Linked DNA regions of Homo sapiens: regions 1, 3, 4 and 5 are each linked to region 2. The links are contacts of gene promoters, found by promoter capture Hi-C in blood cells and fetal thymus (Javierre and others, 2016). All regions are on one chromosome and are shown on one strand. The core of a region is centred on a gene start or on the middle of the fragment in contact, and the rest is flanking DNA. Distances in the headings are between cores, read along the strand shown.

The links. The method cuts DNA at HindIII sites, captures the fragments that hold promoters and counts their contacts. A CHiCAGO score of 5 or more calls a contact.
Region 1: a contact is called between a fragment that was not itself captured here and the fragment with the promoter of FIP1L1 in region 2, in 1 of 17 cell types (total CD4 T cells). The highest score is 7.2, in total CD4 T cells.
Region 3: a fragment that was not itself captured here is called in contact with the fragment with the promoter of FIP1L1 in region 2 in 1 of 17 cell types (total CD4 T cells); the score reaches 6.6 in total CD4 T cells.
Region 4: a contact is called between a fragment that was not itself captured here and the fragment with the promoter of FIP1L1 in region 2, in 2 of 17 cell types (non-activated CD4 T cells and activated CD4 T cells). The highest score is 6.3, in non-activated CD4 T cells.
Region 5: a contact is called between a fragment that was not itself captured here and the fragment with the promoter of FIP1L1 in region 2, in 1 of 17 cell types (total CD8 T cells). The highest score is 5.8, in total CD8 T cells.

What each region holds. Positions count from the first base shown.
Region 1 is chr4:55,864,562-55,867,327 of GRCh38, reverse strand. The region is part of intron 4 of EXOC1 (exocyst complex component 1); the gene reads right to left. Among named protein-coding and RNA genes, the nearest start is that of EXOC1, 12 kb to the right of the region's middle. The HindIII fragment of the contact is 854 bases long and covers 839-1,692 here.
Region 2 is chr4:53,376,267-53,378,966 of GRCh38, reverse strand. It overlaps FIP1L1 (factor interacting with PAPOLA and CPSF1), which reads right to left and starts at 1,326. Exons shown (of 18, transcript NM_030917.4): 1 at 1,044-1,326. The coding sequence starts at 1,128. LOC105377654 (a long non-coding RNA gene) reads left to right here and starts at 1,227. Exons shown (of 3, transcript XR_007058118.1): 1 at 1,227-1,308. RefSeq lists a silencer at 749-838 and enhancers at 511-1,059, 999-1,118, 1,169-1,258, 1,060-1,608. The HindIII fragment of the contact is 4,469 bases long and covers 1-2,700 here.
Region 3 is chr4:55,542,883-55,545,582 of GRCh38, reverse strand. The region is part of intron 1 of CLOCK (clock circadian regulator); the gene reads left to right. Among named protein-coding and RNA genes, the nearest start is that of CLOCK, 2.7 kb to the left of the region's middle. The HindIII fragment of the contact is 1,659 bases long and covers 606-2,264 here.
Region 4 is chr4:55,847,290-55,849,989 of GRCh38, reverse strand. No RefSeq gene overlaps it. Among named protein-coding and RNA genes, the nearest start is that of EXOC1, 5.0 kb to the left of the region's middle. The HindIII fragment of the contact is 6,305 bases long and covers 1-2,700 here.
Region 5 is chr4:55,950,730-55,953,429 of GRCh38, reverse strand. CEP135 (centrosomal protein 135) reads right to left here. Exons shown (of 26, transcript NM_025009.5): 2 at 1,187-1,344; 3 at 155-345. The coding sequence starts at 1,299. It overlaps LOC124900705 (a long non-coding RNA gene), which reads left to right. Exons shown (of 3, transcript XR_007058124.1): 3 at 959-1,039. Among named protein-coding and RNA genes, the nearest start is that of CEP135, 3.1 kb to the right of the region's middle. The HindIII fragment of the contact is 504 bases long and covers 1,068-1,571 here.

The DNA.
Region 1 (2,766 bases), core at 16-2,515, 2.5 Mb before region 2:
AGAACAAAAAGAAGACTAAAACTTTTGGTACAGGCAATTACAGATTTTAGTATATAAGTTCTTTAGAGAGATATTACCGATCTCCTTGTCCTTTCAACGAGTCCATTTAATTCACTGCGAAAAAGTTCAACTGTCATGTGTGACAGCTTATTAGCCACTAGGGGGCAGGGACTGCCCAAATCATTCTGTACAGGTCCTTACACAAGTAGACTTAAACAAATATTTTACATGATTATAATTAACTGCTTCAGAAGTATTTTCTAATGATATGTCCTTGAAAGCCAATAATAAATACTATCATTAATTTTATTACTATGTAGATTTTTAAAATAAATTTGTCCCAGTACATCATTTCATAAAACATACAACCAACGGTATATAACAAAGGCAACTAATAAAAACATATGGAATAGAAGAAGAAAAGGTGTTACGCACCTTCTGTAACTTTAGGCAGTTCTGGAGAGTAAAAAGTATGAAAAAAGCAGAGGAAAGTAAGCAAAGAATATTAGCTGGGTAGAAAAGTAAACAGGCTTAAATTTTTAAAATACTACCCATATCTCATTTGAACTTCATGTTAAAGTTCAAAAGACAGCCAAATCAACTACCAAGTGGAAAGATCCATAAGAAGCTAAATTTGCCGTGTTCATTTTTCTTATTCACTTTCTGATAGTGACTACAAATATATTTATCTTTCTAATTTCTCTTAGTCTTTTAAGAAACAGCACTAACTAACCCTTAGAGGAGAAACCTGGCAAACTAATCATTTCCTGGGGATTATATTTAGGTCAGTTGTGACTCATGCATGTAGCCTAGTTATGTTACTTAAGGCCCAAAAGCTTTACCCAGACACTCCCTCACAGAGGATTAGTCACAAAACATGGTTAGAAAGGACAAGATTGAGGCAAGTAAAAAATTACACAAAATAACAGTTCAAGCCAGCATTTAAGGATTCAAGTCAAAGATTCTTTTTTAAAAAGCTGGTTGCAAGTAAAAGAATGAAAAAAAAGGCCAAATAAAAACTTCAATCTACTTCAACTGCTGAAAAGTCCTCTTTTACAAACCTTATTCTGCTGAGGAGCCCCATTATTTAACTTACGTATTCAATTGTCAACAATAAAAACTACCAAGTTGCCACTGCTACCATTTATAATCAAAATAGTCTTACTTAATTATTGAGCTCTTAAACTGGGGTGGTAATAATTTTTTATTTGTTTTCTAACATCACTCAAAACTTAGAGACATTTTTTTTTAATGGGAATTAAAGGCTGTAATTTCAAGGTCCATAAAACAAGTTTGTAGACATTAATGAAGCTATTCCCTGAACTCCACTAAACCAAAGCAAGAGTTACTGACGTATATAGCAAGTGATTTTCAAAATGAGATCCTTAAGGATCTTCTCAGTATTCTTAAAATCGATCTCAGTTAGGGTTAATGTTTATACACATGAACGTGTCTATACTCTTGTTTTATGGCCTGAAAAATTGAATGCCTTTTTTTTTTTAAGTTAGACACTTCATTTTCAAAAACAGTAATACTCTTCTCACTGATTTTGGTAGTATTTCTTAATGAGGCAGATCCAGGTAGGGTATGTATTTTTCTATATGACTGTCCTGAAATATACTGGTTTAAAATCACCTTACACAATAAATAACATCTGGAAATGCATAATATTTGAAGACAGAACAGCAAGCTTGTGAATCACTGAATCACTGACTCATCAGAATGTTCAACCCTGAAATGTTAAAAAAAATAAAAGCCATTCGAAGCAAATTAAACCACGATTCAAGGCATGAAAAGTTACCATAAATTTCTTGAAGGTCATTCCCTCTACACACTCAATTACCAAGATGTTGGGGACTAGTGTTGGTGAGATGGCAACCCTGGGGATTCCTACATAAGACCAGCACTACTGGTGGCTGACATATGTGACTTGTTTCTGCCAGTGCCAAGCATCAAGCCTAAAATCAGCAGCAGGCTCACTGATTACTAAGTGCTATCTTACAATGTTTGTATCTTTAGGAAAGAAATTTTAAAAGTAGAGAAAATCTCATATTTTCACTAATTAATGGTAGAGTTTTTGTCTTGTAACACAAAATGATGCATAGTAACATTCCTGAAGATATACTGATCAAAAATATTCTAATAATCTTCATGTCTAAGGATTTTATACTGGTAACATAATAATAGCTAATATTTACTGAGCACTTACTATGTACCTGGCACTGTTCTTACTATGTTCATATATTAAGTAATTTAATCCTCATAACAACCCTATGAGGTAGATACTATTATTATCTCTAGTTCTGAGATAAGGGAAACTGAAACATAGAGAGTAAGTATCAATGCAAAGTCATATAGCTAGTTAGTGGCAAAGCCAGGATTTGAACCCAAGAAGTCTGACTTCAGAGCTATGTTCTTAACCACTACATCTACCCTCTGTACAAAAATACTGCTACAAGGGTATTTATCCCAGAGCTGTTTAAAAGAAGCAAAGATTGGAAAATTAAAAAATAAATGATTAGTTAAATAAACATGGTATATCCATATAATGGAATACTATGGTGCTACTGAAAATAATGTTGGGGTAAGTATTCAACAACATGAAAAATGTTCATGATACATTATATGAAAAAGTATGTTAGAAAACATAATGTAAATTTCTTTATCTTAAAAAGGTGTTTATGCATAGGAAAAAGACTAGACGAATATCTAACAAAGTGCTAACAGTAGTTATTGCTGAAGAATAAGTGGTTTTTATTTATTTAT
Region 2 (2,700 bases), core at 77-2,576:
AGAGGTAATGAAGATTTCCAGATCTTTGTAAAAGAAATCCTACACATTCACATTTCAAAGAGTAGTAACTAATGCTAAATCTTGCCACCAAACGATTTTTTTTTACAAGTTTATCAAAGTCACATCATCAAGGACCTGCATGGTGCCCAAAGTGCACTTTTACTATTCTATTCTAAAGACAATCAAGAATATATGTTTTAGGCAAGGAACAAACATTAACTTTCAAATCTGGTGTTAACAAGCAAGAAGGGATTGTGACTTAAAGTTAAAAACCAGATGTCAAACAAGTACCCTTCTAGAGAGAAGTACATGATGCATTAAATTTATTTTGAGAAAAACAAATACATGAGATGACACTGAAAACTATAAGCCGAAGGGTCATGAGATACCTCCATGATGTAGGTTAAACGGTAGTCTCTTAAAAAAGAATAACTTCACCTTAATACAGGAGACATTCAGAGTTTTCTTTATGGGCCATCTTTCTCTCTCTCTCTCTTAATTAATTATTTTTAAAGCACGACTTTCAGACAAGGAGGTACCCTTGCAGGTGCATTCCATACAAACTGACCATCAAGAAACAAGACGTTAGTTGTACAGCATTAACTTTATTTAGCTATTATTACAGAATGACTGTTTCTGAAAGAAGGGACAGGAAGGGCACCCTAAGGCCACAGGGCAAAAACAGACACCAAAAACCACCACCTCAGAATCGACAGAAAAAAACAAGGGTAAAGAGCGCAGCAGCTAGGCGATCGAGACGCCTCGGGGAAAGCACAGCGAAGCCGGGGGCCAGGACCGGTCACAGCCCCCCAGCCCGGCCCGGCCGCCACAGGGGTGGATGCGCATGGTGGGCGTGGGCCAGGCGGGAGACCGCCGCGGGGACTGGGGGCACGCGCACGCCGCGCTCGGCCTAAGTCAGGCCGGACAGGACTCCCAACCAGAGGCCCGAAGCGGCGGCGCGAGAGGCCAGGGACGCCGGCCGTTTGAGGGCCAAGAGGGGAGGCCTGAGAGAACCCGAGAGACAGAGACAGGAAGTTTCGTACCGCCATAGAGCCACTCTTCCTCCTCATCCCCTCCGGTCCCGCCGCTCAGCTCCGACACTAGGCGCTCGACCTCGCCGGCCGACATGGCCGCCCCGAGCGCAACTTAAACGCGGCGATCAACAGCCCCCTCCAACCCCTTCCCCAGCCTCGCAGCCCCGAGGCGCGAGAAGGGCGCGAACCCGCCGACGAACGAACGAAGAAAGCTCGAGACTCCAATCCCAGGAAGGCGACGGCAGCGGCGGCAAAGATGAAGCCTCCAGCGCAGGTCCGTCTGCGCATGCGCAGGAGACCCAAGCGGCGCGGCGCGTATAGGTGGCTTCGCTTCCGCGGCGGCCACCTGGGCCTGGTTGCGCCTGCGCGCTGAGGTGGGCCCCGCCCCTCTAGGATCCCGGTTTGCTATTTTGCGTGGCTTCCTCCCGTGGCGTCCTGAGTCGGCCAGGGTTCCCCGCCCCCACCCTTCTTTTTAATAACCCGTATTGCCATTGCTGGCGAGTACACCATTGTTCCCTTCTACTCTTCGTGCTCTTTCTTCTCAACTTTTTATTTGTTTTTTAATCTTCAGAAAGGCCTTCTTTTATTCTTTAATCAGCCTTGATACAGAATCATTACCTGTCACTCCCTTTCCTCACTGAATAGAGAAGAAATCACAATCAGTACTATTTCTCAAAAAATTAATTTTCACAGCCAACAAAAGCAAAACTAATAGATGAAGAATGCACTCTCCTTGTTAAAAACCATAAATTACTGTCAAGGTCAAAGACCGCCTCATTCCCCTACCCTTCTCTCCGGAGGTAGCCCTTGCTACAGATGCATATCCTGTTTGGAGTTCATCATTCCGAAATTTCCTATACACTTACTTCATGTGTTGTGCTGTTTTGGTGGGAGAACCTGAGATTGACAAGTCTTAAATAGTACAGTACAGTATAGTATCATCCTTCGACTTCCTTTTTTTTCTTTTTTTTTAGCATCCGTGTCTTGGAGCTCTTTTTCATTTTAGTATGAATCAAACTATATCTATTTTAAGTGCTTCATAAAATTGCATAGTATGGCTATCACAGAGTGAATATGGCTATTTCTCCATTGATGTACACCCAGATTGCTTTTGACTTTACACTTTTAACTACAACAAAAAATGACAATGAAGATCCACACGGCTCCTTGCAGATTTGTCTGTTTCTCAAAGATAGATCATAAAGTATGTACAGTTTTTATTTTAATAGGTAAACCAAATGTTCAGGCCGCTTCTGAAAGCACATCTTCCAGTGAAAAGATGACATACCATGGTTCAAACTGGAGCTCTAGGTTTGTCTAGGTTTTTTGTTTGTTTGTTTATTTATTTGAGGCGGAGTCTCACTCTGTTGCCCAGCTGGAGTACAGTGGTGCGATCTCTGCTCACTGCAACCTCCACCTCCTGGGCTCAAGCGATTCTTCTGCCTCAGCCTCCCAAGTAGCTGGGATTACAGGCACGCACCACCATGCCCAGCCAATTTTTGTATTTATAGTAGAGAGGGGGTTTCACCATTTTGGCCAGGCTGGTTTTGAACTCCTGACCTCAGGTGATCTGCCCACCTTGGTGTCCCAAAGTGCTGGGCTTACAGGCATGAGCCACCACGCCCGGCCTGTTTTTTTGTTTTGTTTTGTTTTGTTTTGTTTTGTT
Region 3 (2,700 bases), core at 186-2,685, 2.2 Mb before region 2:
TGCTATTAGACTTTAAGGCTTTTTAGCCTTCTTTAAAAAATAAAAAAATTTTTACAGTGGAAGAAAAGCACAAGAAGTAAACTTTTACAGTCGTTGATTTGACTATAACGCTGATCCCCCCAAATCAAAGGTAATTTCACTTTGAAGATTGCGTTCTGATTTGTAGCTTTAAGCGATTAGAGAAAATTGTGCAATATTCCCCTCTACCTGTTTGAAAATAAACATTCTTAAAAGGATGTAATTTAGATAATGAATTGCTTTCTCTGAAACTTATCCCTTGGGACACCTCAAATCTGATTGGTTTTCAAAGCTTGGGGGAAGGAAATTAATTCCTGTGATAAGTGGTTGGCTGAACAGAATGTCTTGAAAGGTTAGCCTGTAGCATTAGGAGAAATACCTAATGTAAACGACGAGTTAATGGGTGCAGCACACCAGCGTGGCACATTTATACATATGTGACAAACCTGCACGTTGTGCACATGTACCCTAGAACTTAAAGTATAATAATAAAAAAAGTAAAAAAAAAAAAAGTTAGCCTGAAGAAAGCAGACTGAAAATGTTCTAAAGCTAGGCGTAATCAGTTATGAAAAAAGAATAAGGAAGCTTTCTACGTACTAACATGCAAAGATTGCAAAAATTTGCTATGAAGTGAAAAAAGCAAGGTGTAGCGGTACTTTGTGAATAGTGTGTTACATCTTAAGGGCGAGGTGTAATAATACAAGTTTATGTTTGCTCTTTATATAAAGAAATTATGGGAGGATTTAGAAAACTAACAATAGAGGAGAGGGAGAAATAGTCTGAGGGAATGGTGGGAAATGAGATGTATTATGTGTATGTCTTCATGTTTTCAAATTTTTGTGTGTATTATGGACTCATAAACTGGATTAAACAAAAATCCTCCTCCCCCAAATAATTTGTGTGATTTTTGTTGCCTAATTTATGGTGATTTGAGTCATTTTCAATATGATTGCTTTTCATATTTTTTAGGAAAATCAACTAAAAAGGAAGTTTGGGATACCTTTTATGACTATTTACACTTTAATTTTTAAGATTGCAGAGGTCACAGGCATTTATCTTTTAAAGATGTTTAGTTATATCTTGCCTTGCTAAAATATATGACTGTTTACATTTGGCATTATGGCTGGATTATGCTGCTTTCAGAGTGTAGTTTGTGTTTCCCCCTCCTCTTTTTTTCAGGAGTCATAGATGGGTAAAATTTTACTTAACCCCAAAGTTTCATGACAAACAATTATGAGGAGGATGTGAACATTCCCTTAAAGTGCTAGTAAACTTGATTGTCTAGGTTAGTTTGCTTTTCAGGTTGGGAAACTTTTCTTTCTTTTGAGGAAATCAAACATGAACCCCAGTGAAAGGTAAATTGGGGTGTGTGTGTGTGTGTGTGTGTGTGTGTGTGTGTCTGGTTGTTTCTCATGAAAGTGTACAAAATGAACATTTTTTTAGGACTGGATTGTTGAAAACCTGTTTAATGAGGTTAAGACTGCACAGGCAGCTGTTAGATGAGATATAATTTTGGGAGGGGACCCTCAAACTCCCCCTGGTGACTAATATTGTGTAATGAAAGTAGTGAATAGTGAGTAATGGATTGCAGTTGCTGTGGGCATTTTTGTAATATTACCAGTATTCCTTTTTATTTTGTAGGATAGGATACTTATATTATTTCTGTTTGATATGTAGGTTTTTCTAATAGACTTCTGCAAAGTGTCACTTATTTTTCATTTGAATTCCATGTGGGTCCGTTCAATCTTTTTTAAAAATGGAATTACATTTCAATTTTTTTTTTTTTTGGAGACGGAGTCTTGCTCTGTCACCAGGCCGGAGTGCAGTGGCACGATCTTGGCTCACTGCAACCTCCGGCTCCCAGGTTCAAGAGATTCTCCTGCCTCAGCCTCCCGAGTAGCTGGGACTCTTATTTTTAAAATTACAGAAGTAAATTGATGCTCATAAAAAGTTAATACAGTGTATATATAATAAGTGACAACCCCTTTACATCCACTTCTAGCTCACATTCCTCCCCAGAGGAATCTAGGGAGCACAGCTACTCGTATACCCTTGACTGAAGGGTAACACTGTTAACACCACTGTATGATCTTGTAGATCTTTTTCTGTGCATTTGCAAATATGTTCTTTTCAGCCTTGAAAACGGAATCATCTTGAATGATCATCTGCTTTGCCATTTTGCCTCCAGTATGGGCTCTGTTATTACCTACAGGACAGGGACATGACTTGGAGCCTGTCAGAAAGCTTAACATCTGATATAGACCATAGGTCATACTCATCTTTTCACTAGTGAGGGGCCAATTGTTATGGAGGCATTTGCAGAGTTTGAAGGGAGGTCATACTGATGTGAGTTTTATCTGGTATAGATTTAATTCACTGTAAACTTCGAGCGGCCGAGGTGGGAGAATGGCTTGAGCCCAGGATTTCAGGACCAGCCTGGGCAACATAGTGAGACCTCTTTGCTACAAAATTTTTTTAAAAAAAATTAGCCAGATGGGGTGGTGCACACCGTAGTTTCAGCTAATTGGGAGGCTGAGGTGGAGGGATCACTTGAACCCAGGAGTTCAGCCTTGGTGACAGAGTGACACCCTGTTTTAAACAAAACAAACCCAAAAGGTGCTTGGATTCCATGAATTTTATAGGACTCTTTAGAGTCCAAGTTTTAGGGTTTTCTTTGGCTTT
Region 4 (2,700 bases), core at 68-2,567, 2.5 Mb before region 2:
AAACGTTCACCCCTATACGCTGCCGTGGAGTCCGAGCCCCACAACCTGCCCTTCTGCATGCTCCCCCTAGAGGTTTGAGCAGTGGGGCACTGAAGAAGTGAGTGACACCCCCATCGCATGCCCTGCGATGGGGATAAGGGAATTTTCCTGTTTCGGAATCACACAGACCAGGGGTTCAAATCTGGTCTTTACCCTTTACTGAGTCAGTGACCACAGGGCAAGTTACTTAACTCTTCAGAGCCTCAATTTTCTCATCTGTATATAAAAAATAGTAATCCCATCTTGGGCATATTTGCTAAGATGTTTCTTGTAAAGCACTTGTCTCATTGCTTGGCACACAGTATAAGCATTCAATAAATGGTAGCTGTTATTACATGCAGATTGGTTTAGTAGATTAAATTGGGCAGATTTACCTACTTGAAAAACATGTAATAGTCACCCAAGGAGGTTCTGCCCAAGGAGGTTCTGAGGTCCCGCTTCCTTTACATAGAAAGAAGGCTGTATATATTAACATGTATCACATATGAGGGAATCTCATACTTACATAGCATGAAATAACTTTTCCATTGTTAGTAAGCTCCAAGGGAAAAGTCTCTTCTAAATGGTGAAGAGTAGTAAATATTGATGATTTATAGAAGTTAATTGTTTCCTCAGAGAAATCGCTCTTGTTACTGTGCACCAGTAAAGCAGAGGCCTGAAGATTGTAAAGACTTCATGTTCTTCTCAAGACCTGAATCCATTTTGCACCTTTTGAAGGGGGAGGGAGACCATCCTTTTCCTCAGCTTGAACCCCTGAAGGAGGAAGGGCAAAAGTGCCCCACTCCCTCTAGGGCTGTCTCTGATGACATCGGTGGTAGCTCCACTGGCTTTGAGGACATTGTTTAGTGAGAAAACTCATAGATTTCATGGAAGTGGACTTTCATATTTCATATTTGGATGCCTCTTTTACTGGCATCCAAACTGTCTTTTGATATCAGTCTGATTAATTTTAATTTGGGTATAAAGCTAAGGGATCTTCAAATGTTTAAAATGTTCAAATGTTTAAAATCATGTAGATTTATATAATTTCAATTTGAAATGTGACATTTTAAACATTTGACATTTATTATGACACTTACTTTGATTTTTCTCTTCCCTATTTCTTAGCATTGTTTTCTTATAATTTAATGATGCATGTTCCTGTCTAAGAAAGGAAGAACTTTTTTTCAGAGATGTAAGACTATTAGTATCAACACAAAGAACACCAAGTAACTCTTTGTGGGGGTGGGGGGTGGACAATGAGAGTTACAATGCTGCACTTCCCAGATTCTTTATTTTCTTTTTCGTTCTGTTTTTTCTGGAGACAGTCTTGCTCTGTCACCCAGGCTGGAGTGCAATGGCGTTAGCTCACTGCAACCTCTGCCTCCCAGGTTCAAGCGATTCTTCTGCCTCAACCTCCTAAGTAGCTGGGACTACAAGCACATGCCACCATGCCTGGGTGATCTTTTGTATTTTTAGTAGAGATGGGGTTTAGTAGAGATGGGGTTTTGCCATGTTGCCCAGGCTGGTCTCAAACTCCTGGGCTCAAGTGATCTGCCCACCTAGGCCCAGATTCTTTATTTTCTAAATATCTTTAACAACTGCAGCAAGGAAGAAATGTCTCTACTGTTAAATACATAAAGCAATTGGTGTTTGTTTTAGGTTTTGTTAGAAATAGATGTAAATATCCCCACGTGATACTTTCCATTTCTTTGTAGCTTTATGGGAGGAAGTCAGGGAGTCACTAAATAAGGATGGTAATTACCTGTATCAATATTAATTAAGTAAATATTATAAATAAATATTAGTTAGATAGTAGATGCACATTTGACATCATTATTGGAAAGTAATATAATGTGACATACAAATAAATATAAGGAAGGCAAAGATTGGCTTGCAGAATCACATTGCGTCTCAATGCTTTTCTTATGCAGCTGCCTTATTTAATATACATATTGTAGAGTGATATTACAATAAAGGGCAGTCATTACAAATGCACAGTGCTGAACTCCGTATACACATTCTAGGAGATTCTCTCAGAAGTGCAGAAATCATCTCTTTTTTTTTAATTTTTTTATTTTTTATTATTATTATACTTTAAGTTTTAGGGTACATGTGCACATTGTGCAGGTTAGTTACATATGTATACATGTGCCATGCTGGTGTGCTGCACCCACTAACTAGTCATTTAACTTTAGGTATATCTCCTAATGCTCTCCCTCCCCCCTCCCCCCACCCCACAACAGTCCCCAGAGTGTGATGTTCCCCTTCCTGTGTCCATGTGTTCTCATTGTTCAATTCCCATCTATGAGTGAGAACATGCGGTGTTTGGTTTTTTGTCCTTGAGATAGTTTACTCAGAATGATGATTTCCAATTTCATCCATGTCCCTACAAAGGACATGAACTCATCATTTTGTATGGCTGCATAGTATTCCATGGTGTATATGTGCCACATTTTCTTAATCCAGTCTATCATTGTTGGACATTTGGGTTGGTTCCAAGTCTTTGCTATTGGGAATAGTGCCGCAATAAACATACGTGTGCATGTGTCTTTATAGCAGCATGATTTATAGTCCTTTGGGTATATACCCAGTAATGGGATGGCTGGGTCAAATGGTATTTCTAGTTCTAGATCCCTGAGGAATCGCCACACTGACTTCCACAATGGTTGAACTAGTTTA
Region 5 (2,700 bases), core at 70-2,569, 2.6 Mb before region 2:
ACTCCCGAGTAGCTGGGACTATAGGCACACACCATCCAGCTGTAGGACTACTATATTTTCTAATCAATAGTTTTAAAATTAGACGTTAGCTTTTCCTTCTAAAATAAAAAGGACAAAGACATTGCATTTTAAAAATTATCAAATTTTCACTTACCTTTAACGTGTTGGTCTGAATGTTCTCTCAGTTTCATTAACTCTAGGTATAATTCATTATTTTCTCTACTCAATCTTGCATTTTCAAGTTTATAGGGTTCCAAAACAAAATCAAAATTGGCACTTTCTTTTTCAGCTTTCACAGCAGATAATTTTGATTGCCGAAGGCTCTCAGTTGTATGAACTAAGTCGCTAAAAGAACAGAAAATTTAAATACCAGGAAATATTTCATTAACTTTCTAATAACTAAAAACATATTTCTAAAGAGGCTTAAAATACAGTCATGCACCACATGATGACATTTTGGTCAACGACAGACCACATATAGGAAGGAGAGTAGTCCTGTAAGATTTATAATGGGGGCAGCTGAAAAATTCCTATTGCCTCATGAGATCTGGCCATTGTAACACTGTAGCACAACACAATACCTTTTCTATGTTTAGATATGTTCAGATATACAAATAGGCACCACTGTGTTAACAATTACCTACAGTATTCAGTATAGTAACATGCTATACAGGTTTGTAGCCTAGGAGCCATAGGATACAGACCATATAGCCTAGGTTTGTGGTAGGCGACACCATCTAGGTTTGTGTAAGCACACCCTATGATGTTGGTACAACGAAAAAATCACCTAATGATGACATGTTTCTCAGAACGTATCCCTGTCATGAAACTATCCATGACTGTATTTGAAGACCAGTGAAGCAGACATAGAACTTAAGGGGGGGAAAAAAAAAGAACTTAAGGGAAAAGTGTCTCTCAATTATATCAGAAACCCAAAAAACTGTAATTCCATTCACAGAGAAAACCCCCAGAAATGTTGACTTTGAACAGTACAGCGTGAGTGGTGGCCTTTAGAGTTCTGCCGTGTGGAAGGCCTGGATTGAGGACAGGGAAAAAACAGATAAGCTTCATGATTGAAAGCCTTTCCGGAAAGCTACCCTTTTCTTTACCAAAGCATGAAGTTCAATCAGAAATGAGGTAAGTGGTTAGGGATCATAAAGGTTGAAAACTGTATTTTTGTCTTTACCTGAAAAGTTTTTCTACCAAAGGTAAACACTCCACTGTCAGAGTCTGGCGGTATCCCAGCTGATCCAGCCTTTTCCTAATATTAATATACTTTCTCTCTACAGCTGTAGTCATCTCGTCTTCTAAAACAAGTTTTATTCACTTCCAAAAATTAAAGTCCTGAGAGAAAAGAATGAAACATCATTATCTTATTATAGCTATGATTGTTGTTTCACAATAAGAAGAAAAAATTATTTTAATATGAAGCAATTATTTTTTGTTTTTCTTCAGGTAGGTAGCCTTCTGGAAAATTCAGATTTAAAGCCAATGCTTATGATATTCCTGTTACTGCATTAAAATAAATACTTCCTCATACAACTAAATGTAAAAGTTAAAATCCTAAAGCTTCTAGGAGAAAACAAAGATTTTTCCTAAGCCTGAAGTAGGCAGAGACTTCTCAGAGAGGCCTCTTTTAAAAGCACTAAACATAAAAGATAAATTTGATAAATTGGACTTCATCAAAATTTAAAATGTCTGCTCATCAAAATACTCAATTAAAATAGAGAAGGCAAACCAAAGAGTGGGAGAAAATATTCACAATATCTGACAAAGGATTTGTATAGGGAATATAAAAGGAATTCTTACAACTCAATAATAAGACAAACATCCCAATAAGAACATTAATTTGGGCTAAAACTGTAATTTAGTTGCGCTAAAGATTCGAACAGACACCTCGCATAGGTGTCTGAATGGGAATGATGATATGAAATGGTGCTCAACAGTAGTCAACATGGAAATACAAATTAAAACAACAAGGTACATTTTCTCCCAAACTAGAATGACTAAAATTACAAGGACCGACAATAGCAAATGTCGACAAAGATCTGGAGCAACTGGAATCTTCACACATTGCTGACAGGAATGTAAAATCACTTTGGAAAAAGTCTGGCAGTTTTTTTATAAAGTTAAACATACTTCTGGACTATAACCCTGTGATTTTATTCCCAGGTATTTATAGAAATAAAAAATATTCACAAAAATACTCTACAAGAATGTTCACAGCTTTACTCATAGTAGCCCCAAACTGGAAACAACCTAAACCCCCATCAACAGCAGAAGGGGTAAAGTATGATATATTTATACAGTGCAATACTAAGGGATAAAAGGAACTACTGATACACATCAACAGCATGGATGAATCTCAAAAACATTATTTGAGCAAAAGAAACCAGACAAATACTGTATGACTCCATTTACATGAAGTTGATGAACAAGTAAAATTAAAACTATGGGGCCAGAAATTAAAACAAGAGTTGTCTGGGGAGGTGAGGCGGGCTGCAGATTGCCCGTTAAGAGTTAAGACACAACTTTTTAGGGTAATGAAAATATTACATTGATTGGGGTAGTGGTTACACAAGTGTATACATTTAGAGAATTTACTTTTCAAATAGTACACTTAAACTCTATGCATTTCATCATGTAAATTTCACTTCAATTAAAAAAAAAGACACACATAAGTACCTCTGTTCAAGTTTT